Linked DNA regions of Homo sapiens: region 1 is linked to region 2. The links are contacts of gene promoters, found by promoter capture Hi-C in blood cells and fetal thymus (Javierre and others, 2016). All regions are on one chromosome and are shown on one strand. The core of a region is centred on a gene start or on the middle of the fragment in contact, and the rest is flanking DNA. Distances in the headings are between cores, read along the strand shown.

Evidence for each region. Contacts are between HindIII fragments. The CHiCAGO score rates a contact against its expected background, and 5 or more counts as called.
Region 1: a contact is called between a fragment that was not itself captured here and the fragment with the promoter of KIF21B in region 2, in 1 of 17 cell types (naive CD4 T cells). The highest score is 5.4, in naive CD4 T cells.

The regions. Positions count from the first base shown.
Region 1 is chr1:201,119,853-201,125,010 of GRCh38, reverse strand. The region is part of intron 1 of ASCL5 (achaete-scute family bHLH transcription factor 5); the gene reads left to right. Among named protein-coding and RNA genes, the nearest start is that of ASCL5, 4.8 kb to the left of the region's middle. The HindIII fragment of the contact is 9,756 bases long and covers 1-5,158 here.
Region 2 is chr1:201,021,179-201,026,128 of GRCh38, reverse strand. KIF21B (kinesin family member 21B) reads left to right here and starts at 2,415. Exons shown (of 35, transcript NM_001252102.2): 1 at 2,415-2,786. The coding sequence starts at 2,746. It overlaps LOC101929305 (a long non-coding RNA gene), which reads right to left and starts at 2,180. Exons shown (of 4, transcript NR_188464.1): 1 at 2,044-2,180; 2 at 510-625. RefSeq lists silencers at 1,690-1,847, 2,199-2,558, 2,959-3,008, 4,889-4,950 and enhancers at 3,613-4,220, 4,529-4,658. The HindIII fragment of the contact is 1,958 bases long and covers 1,978-3,935 here.

The DNA.
Region 1 (5,158 bases), core at 2,182-4,681, 98 kb before region 2:
CCTCTAAAATACAGGTAACCGCATGCATGAGACAGGTTGGAGAATCCCAGTGACAGCCTGCACACAGAGGGAGCTGCGAGGGCCTCAGCCACCAGGAGGGGAAACTGGGGTGGGGGCAGTGGAGAACCAGGGCCATGGTCTACCCTGGCCACAGGTCCAGGCTCTCCTGGCCTCGGTCCCTCCTGTGGAGTGGGGGCTGCAGACACCCACTTCACAAGGACACCCTGAGGCTCGAATGAGATCCAGAGTGTGAAGTATCACAAGTGCTGAACAATGTTGGTTCATGAATCTCCTTCCCTCATTACGGGCACCGTCTCCCCTCCAGCCCTGCAGCTGCAGTCACTTCCCACCTACGAATTCTCTGGATCTATTAATATGATCTGCAGAGGCCACCAGACCCATCTTCCTTGGGAACCCTCAAACTTTTGTTCTGTGGCCCCTAAGGGCTTTTTTTCCCCCATGAAATAGCCGTCACCTACAAGGGATACTCCTTTTTGTAGAGAAAGGAGTGAGAATCCTTTTTCCTCTGTTCCCCTGAGTTGGCAATAATATGGGCCCCAGGGCATGACTCTGCTTGAGCTTGGCACTGGAGCCTAGGGCAGTAGGGCCAGGGAGGAGACAACAATGACGATGGGTGTGTGGTTCAGAGGGCAGAGGCTGGCAGGCAGCACCCTTGGGGGCAGCTTCCATGGTACCCACCCCTCAACCCCAGCCTCCCTAGCTTCCTAGCCTGTGAACCCAGCTCTGAGGCTGACTGTTCCTCATCAAGGGAGGCTCAGGCACAGCTTGAATTTCTGGGATTCAAACTGATTTCATCTGCAGAACCGCCTGGTTCATTCTGACCATGACTTCACTGTGTCTATAGGATGATTTTCCTTCCTCTTTGTCTTCTTTGAAATTAACATTGATTAATCATAAGCATTCAGAAACACTCTTGAGCACCTATGTGTGTAACCAATGATGAGAACAGGAATTGCAGTAACTTGCATTTGCACAGCAGTGTGAGTCACTTCAGCCAGAGAGAGCAAGTTAAATACTGGGTTCCTAGTCACAATTTTGGCCAGGGTCTCACCTTTCCCTTCTGCAACCCCAAAACCCACCCCCAATGAGGTTGTTGGACTCCTCAGAAGGTATTTCTACTCCCCGAAAGGCAAAGTACGGAGCAGTTTTATCTGATGGTAAGATTTGTGAAGAGTCACATTAGCACTTATTGGTGGCTTTGGGACAAGAGTCCAGGTGTCGGGCTCCTGAGCCATAGACTCTTCCTCCTCCCCTTGGGTGGGGTGGGGTAGTAGGAGTAATGTAGGGAATGGACTTTCTTCTGAATCTGAGTCTTATTCTTCTGGGCTAAGAAAGACTCATTCCTGGACAGGATGACGATGCCCCAGTCCCAGAGTGTAGAAAGGATCCCTTGAATCCCAGGTCAACATTTATCAGCTGTGTGACCTGCGGCAATTTGCTTAACCACTCTTTGCCTTGTTCTTCTCATCTGTAAGTTGGGGATACCATCAGTCCTGACATCATAAGGCTGTAATGAGAGTTTTGTAGCACACTTAGAACAGCGGCTGGCATATAGGTAAGTGCTAGGCATGTGTGGGCACTAAGATGCAGTCCTTTTTTCTTCTACTAAACTGAGGGCAGCAGTTGAGGTTGTCCTCTGCTGGGTCCCCAGCCCACAGAAGGATTCCTTGAAGGAGCTCAGGAGATGTTATTTGGTAGGTGGATTGACAGGCGATAGAACACACGGTTGAATAAATTCAATTTATTAGAATTATTTGAATTCAGTTACCCTTTTCATTCAAAGATTGGAGGGGAAAAATCGGACATTTAATGCATAGAATTTTCCTTTTAGACTCAGGACAGATGTGACTGTGGGAAGCTACTGGGTGTAAGCATTGGTGGAACAATATTGGTGGGGCACCTGCCGTCCTGGGCTTCTCTTAGCCACATCCAAGGGTCCTAGAGCTTCTGGGAGCTTTTCTGAAGGTCACCCGTCCCTTAACGGCAATAAGAGCTACCATTAATTCAATTGCTTTTAGGTGCCACGTGGCTCACATACATTACCTTTGTCTTTACAGTAACCTCTAAGGTAGGTATTATTACCTTCACTTTTCAGATGAGGCAACAGGCTTATAGAAGTCAGTAACTGGCCTAAAGCTACTTAGCCAGTAAGAGCAGCGCCAGGATTCATCCCGGCCAGTTTAATCTAAAGCCCGTGCTCAGGGTTTAGCAGTGGGGTGGTTGCCTCTGGGAACATCTTCCCATAACTCCACAGCATTGCAAATGCCTGGTTATATTCAGGGAACTGGGAAGGACTAAATTCCTCACCCAGCTCCACCCCCAGGAGATCCTGTAACAATCATTACTCATAAAAAAGGTGGGGACCGCTGCCCGGCCAAGAAAGTCCTCATATCAACCCAATGAGACCCTGGTAAATTCAATCGGCTGTGTGACCCTGAGCAGCTCTCTTAGCCTCTCTGAGCCTGTTTCCTCTTTTGTAAACAGGAACAGTAATACCTTCTCTCAGGTGTGAGGATAGCATGGGATAAGGAAAGCAGAGCACGCCGCAAAGCACCAAGCATCAGAGGGCACCTAATCCACGCGAGCCCATCCTTCTCCACCCTGTTTCTCTTCTTTAAGACTCTCAGCAAAGTGATGCCACATTGAGGACTTGGCTTGGTCAGCCCATGTCAAAGCTCTGTGAGCTTTTCTCTTTGTGAAACTGGATGCAGCCAGGTTGCTGCGGAGCAACAGAGGTTTCCAAACCTGAGGCAGGGAGGATGGCGTGGAGGGCAGCGTGAGGGGCTAAGCAGGCTCTGGGGCCCATGGATAGTACTTCCTCATTCAGTGCAGGCTAAGGGGGCAAGTGGGGCTGGAATCCCGCCTGCACAACACCCACCCAGAGCATGAAGCATCATTTTCTAACCCAGCAAGGTGCCATGTGGGCTCATGGTCACAGGGCCTGGCTGCCCCTTCTCCCATCAGTGTTGAAACTATACCCGTCAAGATTCTGAAAGGATTGCTTATGTTGAATATGTGGTCTGGAGTGTTCACTATGTATATGGTGGGGGTGGTGAGGTTATCCTTCTAGAAATATGTACAGGTTATGTGACAGACCCCCCAAGGGAGATTGTAAGATTTCCTATTTGGGTTTTTGTTGTTGTTTTGGGGTTTTTTTTTTTGAGACAGGGTCTGAGTCTGTCACCCAGCTGGGTGCAGTGCTGCAATCACAGCTCACTGCAGCCTCCACCTCCTGAGCTCAACTGATCCTCCCACCTCAGCCTCCTGAGTAGCCGGGACTACAGGCATGCATCACCACATCCAGTTAACCGTTTTTATTTTTAGTAGAGATAGGGTCTCTACTAAAGTATGCAGAACCTAATGAAAGATGAATACAATATTTAATGAGAGATTTTTTTCAAGTTAGTGATAAAAAGATGGCCTGCTTAATGAATGCTAAATAAATCGACACTGCTAATTATTGGTCTACAAAATTAAAACAGAACCCTATTGGAAACCACACACAAAACTGAATTCCTAAAGGAAAATGTAGCGGTGAGTAAGACTTAAACAAGACTAGAAGCACAAGGTTCCCAAGCTGGTCACAAATTCCTGGGCTCAAGCGATCCCCCCACCTCGGCCTCCGAAAGTGCTGGGATTACAGGTGTGAGCCACACACCAGCCCCTATTTGTTTCTTAAAAAAATACATTTACCCTGAAGATTTAAAGGCAGAATTTCCTGAAGTGTATTCTATTTGATGTTAGTGGGCTTAAGACCATTTTTTAAGTGTTCTGTGGTTCCATTGGGAATTTGGGGGTTAAATACAAACAGGTTTCTTTACCTGCAGGGCTTCCCAGGGCCTCTGATGCTAACATGCCCTCCAAGGGCCAACGCTAATGTGGGTATCCAAGGAGGGAAATGCGGGGAGCTGCATTTCTCAAATTATGCAGCCCTTAGGGGAAAGGTTTTAGCAACCACCTTGCCTGGAGGCAGGGGAATGAGTGAGGATTCCACAAAGCTAATGAGTTCTGTCATTCTGAGTCCTTGGGGCTTCCTTACAAATGTTCCCAGTTTTTGGCGGCAGTGGGTAGAGGGGAGGCTATGGAAGCAGTCTCCCTGTTGCTGCCCAAAAGCAGCATTATGGACTGGTCAACTCTCAGAAATCTCTCAGAGTGGTAGGAGAAGAAGAAGACTATGGAATCACTTTCCCCAATACTTCCTTCAGAGCCATGGGTTCCCTGTTGAAAGAGACATGTTCAGCCAATTCCTGACCTCAGACCCCCAACTCTGGTTCCAGTCCTGCTAAAGACAATGAGGAAAGCCTGAAAGGTAGAATTATGTTGTCTGCTTCTTCAAAGTTCACATCTGCCTTTGCCTCCCCAGGGCTTCCCACCAGTGTCAATCAACAAACACTTAACTGAGCGTGTACTGTGTGTCTCAAAGAAGGATAAGACCAGAGTTCTTGGGCTCACAGTTTACAGCCTGGGTTGGGGGCAGTGACAGGAAGAGCCCTGGGGAGAGGGCCCTCAGGTTGCCTGTTGCCCATGCAGAGTATAAGGCTGAGGAGGGTGGGGAGACAGGGCCCTGGTGAACATTGAGCACCAGGGAGAGGCCTGGGAGAGATGGGCAGGGGATGAGTATGAAACCATTAACAGCAAGTTATGATAATGTGCCATCCCCAGGGGTGTGGACAGTGAGATCCTCTGGCAATAGGGACAACAAGGGGCTAATATTGGTGGGGCAAACACTAGTGCTACACAATTAGAATTGGCAAGGTATTGCAAAGGAGGCCCAGGAGACCCCCGCTGACAATACGCCCTCTCTGGTGCAAGTCAGATTTGAGGATTAGAAAGTTCTTTGCACAATAATTGATGATAGCTGGCCCTAAACAAACTAACTGTACATGGTACAACTGAGCGTAGACTGCAGGCCTAACAGCTCAGTGTAGCTTGCACCACGAAGAAAGCTCTGGGGAGGAACAGCAGTTACTTCCTGCCAAGCACATCTGCTCGGCTGCTTCCCAGGGCAAAGTAAACTAGAGTACAGCTGGTAATGAATGGGGTTGCTGAGGGCAAGGAGTGGCTCTGGTCCCAGAGAGGAACCAGGGCCCCTTAAAAAGGTGGACAGCATTGCCTGCAACTAATAGTCTGTGCCTAC
Region 2 (4,950 bases), core at 1,166-3,665:
AACCAAAGAGAGGAAGCAGTGGCTGTGCTGAAGCTGGACAGAAACTGAAAAGGGCAAGGCTTGTCCTAAACTTCCTCTGACCCATCTAACCTAAATCTCCCCACGCTGTGGTTTAAGCCTTTTTCCCACCTTGGTTCTCCATCTAGCCTCTGAGCAGCAGAACCCAGGGGGGATGTCTGGATGCTGGCTGCCCTGCTGCTCCCTGGTGGCCCAGGAGGGAGCTACTTCTGAGTAGCCGAAGTCCTGAGGCTCTGACATTTAGGAGACCTGAGTTTCCCGCCCGTGTGTATCCCTGCTTCCCCTGACTCAACACCCAGTGACCTGGAGGGATGCAGAGAGGGTGGGCAGCAGCTCTGGAGGCATTTCCCAGCAGTAGAACTGTGAGTCAGAAGGGTCATCTACTGTCGGAAGTCAGAGGGGACCTCCTGCAGGCAGGAAACCAGAGTTGGGCCCCAGAGAAGTCCAGAGATGAGTTGGCGGGAAAGTAGCTCTTCAGAATGCAACATTACCATCCGGGAAGGCTGAACCTGGAGTCCGCTGTGCCTAGAGGAAAAGCCTGGGCCGGCCTAGCTCCCTTCTGCCTGGACATCATCATCCCTTCCACCTTGGTGGTCATCTGGGAAGCCTGGAATAAGATATACATGTCCAAATCTGGAGTCTGTTGCTTATATGCTGGAATTCATACATGTGAGGCTCAGTTTCCCCATCTGCAAAATTTAAAAAGAATAAAAAAGCCTAGCTTACAAGGTTATAGGGAAAAAATGAGAATATGTGCATAAAATACCTTGTGTAGGTGGTCCATATGTGTTAGTCTCCTCCCCACGAATTATTTTGGTTGGAAGATGGGGAGGAATGTTGCAGGATATGACTGCAACATTCTGCTAACCTCCTGGTCCAGGAGAGGTGATCCCCTGGCCCCAGGGAGAGCTTCCTCTAGATTCAAATGCTAATAAAAGGTCCAGGATACCACCAAGACCTCTTCTCCAGCCCCCATCATGGGGGCACTGCTGGCGGTGCTCCTCCTGTTTGCCATGGGGATGAAAAGGATGTGTTGATTGGCCCTTGAAATTTGCCCTTGAAATTATCTTTGGTTTTGATTTGACCTTAATAGGTCAAGCCAAACAGGGATCTGAGCTACTGCATGAAGCAGTTATTGGCGGGGAGGGGGGTGTGAGTGGAGGAGGGAAGGGGAGGAAGATGGTACCAACAGATGCATCCTCAGACCCCAGTCCACACCCTTGCCAAAATCTCTGACATGGTTTCATCATCTGAGGGTAATGTAAGAGGCCTGGAGTCAGACTCCCCTTCCTCCCCTCCCCCAGAGATCCCCATCCACATCTGGGGCTGCAGCTGGGTCCTCCTCTTGGGCCCTTTCCAGGGGAGGGAGCTGGGTGAAGTGAGGGCAGCTGGTGAGGGGCCCTGTGAATGGCCCCAATGTTGGGAGGCAGGGGGCAGGGAAGAGGCGTCTGGGCTCAGAGGGAGGGAGATGGACTGGGAAGGGAATTGTGACTTTGCAGCACTGGTCTCCTCCTCCATCCAGGCCCAGCGTTAAAGTCTCCATGGTCCTCCTTGTCCTTTATACCCATTCCTGCAGGCAGCTGCCCTCCTTCCCTTCCCCACCCACTTCACCGCCCAGCCTCTCTACCCAGGTGCTCGGAACTGAGGGCCCCCTTTGTTCCCTCCTTTCCCCCAGGGCAGCTCAGGCCTCCCACACTGACCCTCTGGCCCCACAGCCACAACAAGCAGAGTGTGAGCCAGGCCCAGTGGGGTCATCTGTGGGTCATAAAGGTCAATGGGACAGTCGTCTAGCAGTAGGGAGGGGCTAGTCTTGGGCTAGGAGCCTGGCCAGGAATCAACTAAAACATGAGCTTTAAGATGCTGCAGGGTGGAGGTGGGGGAAATTTTAGTTAGGGGCTAGCAAGAACTCCCTTCGAGAAGGGTTGGCGAATTTACTGGAATAAATGCAGAAGGGAAGCTTTCCTGGCTCTTTTGAACTATAAACCGTCAATCGCTGTGGGATCCCCGGGAGACCAGGGTTCTTACCATGCTTACCCACGAACTCGCTCTGTAACCTTCGGTAGTTCCCCTCTTTGAATCTCAGTTTCTTCATTTATGAAATGAGGGTCCCATTGAAGCCGAGGTTCTGCTACTCCAGGAGCCGAGGTTCTAACGTGGTCTGCGTCCAGCGCCCCCACCCCTACTCCCACCCCTACCCCCACCCCCACCCTTCAATCCCGCCCCCTACCCCCAGCCACCCCGTGGCCGCGAGCCAAGAGGTCCCTTTAAAGGCGCGAGTCCCGCCCCCACTGCTCATTAGGGCTTTCGATTGGCGGCTCCTGGGCGGGGCGGGGCCCGGCCTGGGCTCGGGGCTGGCTCGGGGCGGGCTCGGGGCCGGATCGGCCCCCGCCCCCTTTGTTCGCGCTGCGGCGGGAGGTGGCTGCCGGGTGGGAGGTGTGTGCGCGTGTGCCGCGCCGTAGGGAGCGGCGGGTCGCGCCGCCGGCTGTCAGCTAGCTCCGCGCCGCCGCCCGATGGCGCGAGGAGGCGCGCGGGCCCAGCCCCGGGGGGCCGGCCGCGGGTGAGCCCCTCGGCCTGCCGCCCGCGAGCATGTCACCTCCAGCCGCCGCCGCCGCAGCCTCCGCCAGCCGCGCCCGCGCCCCCGCCTCCCGCAGCCGCAGCCGCTGCCTCGGGCATTGGCCCCCAGACCCCCGCCTCTGATCCACGCCCAGACCCTAGCTCCAGAGGGCCATGGCCGGCCAGGGGGACTGCTGCGTCAAGGTGGCCGTCAGGTAGGGACCCGGGGCGGGGAAGGGGGCGCGCGGAGAAGCCTCGGGCTTTGTCTCGCGTGGGCTTTGGGCGGGGGGCGCGAGCACCGCTTGGGCTGGAGCCTGCACTCCCGGAGGAGGGGCCGGCGTGGGACGGGATGGAGGGCGCCGCGCGCTGGCCAGTCTGCCGCAGGGGAGCGGCGACCCCGCCGACTACTGGAAGGTGGCTTTGTTTGGGTGGTAATTTTGGGCCCCTCTTGGGAGCCCTTAATGATCAGAAAATCGAATAAACAAGGAAATCCGGTATTTCACACCCAGCTCTGGCCCAGGCCGGAGCGTCTGTGCGTTTCCTCTTCGCCTCCCCACGAGGCTGCTGTCTCATACGGGGATACCAGAGAGGGAAATTTCCCCTCATCCATGCGAGTCAGCTAGTTATGTGCTCTTGGTCCAGCTAGCAAAGGCAGCACACCCACCCTGGGAGCCAGATCTGCAGACAAAGATCGGGTGCGGGGACCAACGGAAAAGCTGGGATGATGCCTTGGCCTTCTGTGGGAAGTCAATGGCTTTGGGGGAGAATCCTACCAGTCCTGTCCCAAGAGGAGATGGGCCTAGGAAGGGAGGAAGAGGTGTATCTGAGGTGCTTCTCTCTGAGAGGGCAGGAGGGTGTGATGCAGATGCCCCATCCTCAGGCACTCAGATAAAATTGAGCAGGGGAGGGTTGCCTAGACTTATCTGGGGTTCCATTCTCAACAGCTCCGGGACTTGAGCCGGCAGAAATGAGACAGGGAGAGGACATGGCTGGGTGGGTTCTATTGGGAGGGGTACACAAAGGTGCAGGAGCAGGAAATGCTGTGAAATTGAGCCATCTGTGTTCTTTGTGCTGGGTGGAGATGCTTCACACCTCACCACTTCTCCCAGTTTTTGCTTTGGGTTTTTCTCTTTGAGAGGGGTGTCTTGGCGGCAGAGTGCCAATCTGGAGCTGCTCACCAAGGTAGGGATGTGGCAAGAACATCTATCTCTGCCCCAGCCCTGTATGATGGAGGGGGCGGGGGATTGTCCAGGTCTAGGGTAGGTCTCTCAGGTCTCTAGATCCCTTGGGTCATATGTGACCCAGATTCCAGGGGTCCTAGGAGGTTGCTCCTAGACAGAGTCAGAGATGGCAATGAAAAAGCTTTCTTCTTCCTGCCCCAGGGCAGATGCCCCTTGCCACGGCCACCTGGCCAGGCCTCTGCAGCCCAAAGAGGAGCTGACACTGATCAGTGCTTGGGTGAAGGGAAGGAGATTGAGGCACCCCCACCCATGCACCCTAGGCAGCACTCAAGAATCACTTGAGCACAGCTTTCCTGGCCCTGAGCAGCCAGAGACAAAGAGGAGCCCTGCAGGTGCCTGGTGGGCTGACTGGGGCGGGGCCAGGCTGCTGCTGGGGCTGACATTGCAGCAGGATCTTGTGGAGGTCGAGGGAGGGGTGCATGGCTGGGGGGTGGGAGTGAGAAATGTAAATATGGCATCTGCAGCAGATTGGGAGAGTCCGAGAACACCATAAAAGGGAAATGAAGCTCTGGCCCCCACCCATTGTGAATGAGGGCTGGGAAGGAAGGGGCTTGGGGGTGCCCTTTCCACAGGGGGTTTCCTTTAGATTCCATCTTGCTGGAGAGAGCTAAACAAAGGCCCCCTACCTCTGTTCAGGTCTCCAGGCTGGACTGGGGCTGAAAAGATGTGGGACTCCCACCCGGGGAGCCTCATGGGATTGGCACAGTGAGGAGAAGCTGATGTTCTCTTCCCACTGCCACCTCTAGAAGCTTCCCGGGACCCTTTCTGCAGAGAAGGGATCATGCCTGCCCTCTGCACCCAGTTCAGGACCATGTGTGTCATCTCTGGTTCCCAGTCAGATTGCCCTAAGTGGGGTCTGGGTGCCCCCACGCCTTGCCTTTCAGTTGCTGATCTGGATTGGGGGTGGGGCATTTGAGCATCAGAAGTCAGGCTTTCAGGGTCTCCGGGAAGGTAAGGGCCCCGCCCACTCCTCCCCTCCCACCCCAGCATGAGCGCCCAGCCCCGGCACACGCCAGACCTCAATGGGCAGCCGGCCGTGTACAGCAGACAATGCCTGGACAGAACCCAGTTTCTAATCAGAGAGCTTAGGACTGAGCTGGGGCTGGGCTGGGCTGGGAAGGAGAGCAGATGGTACCAG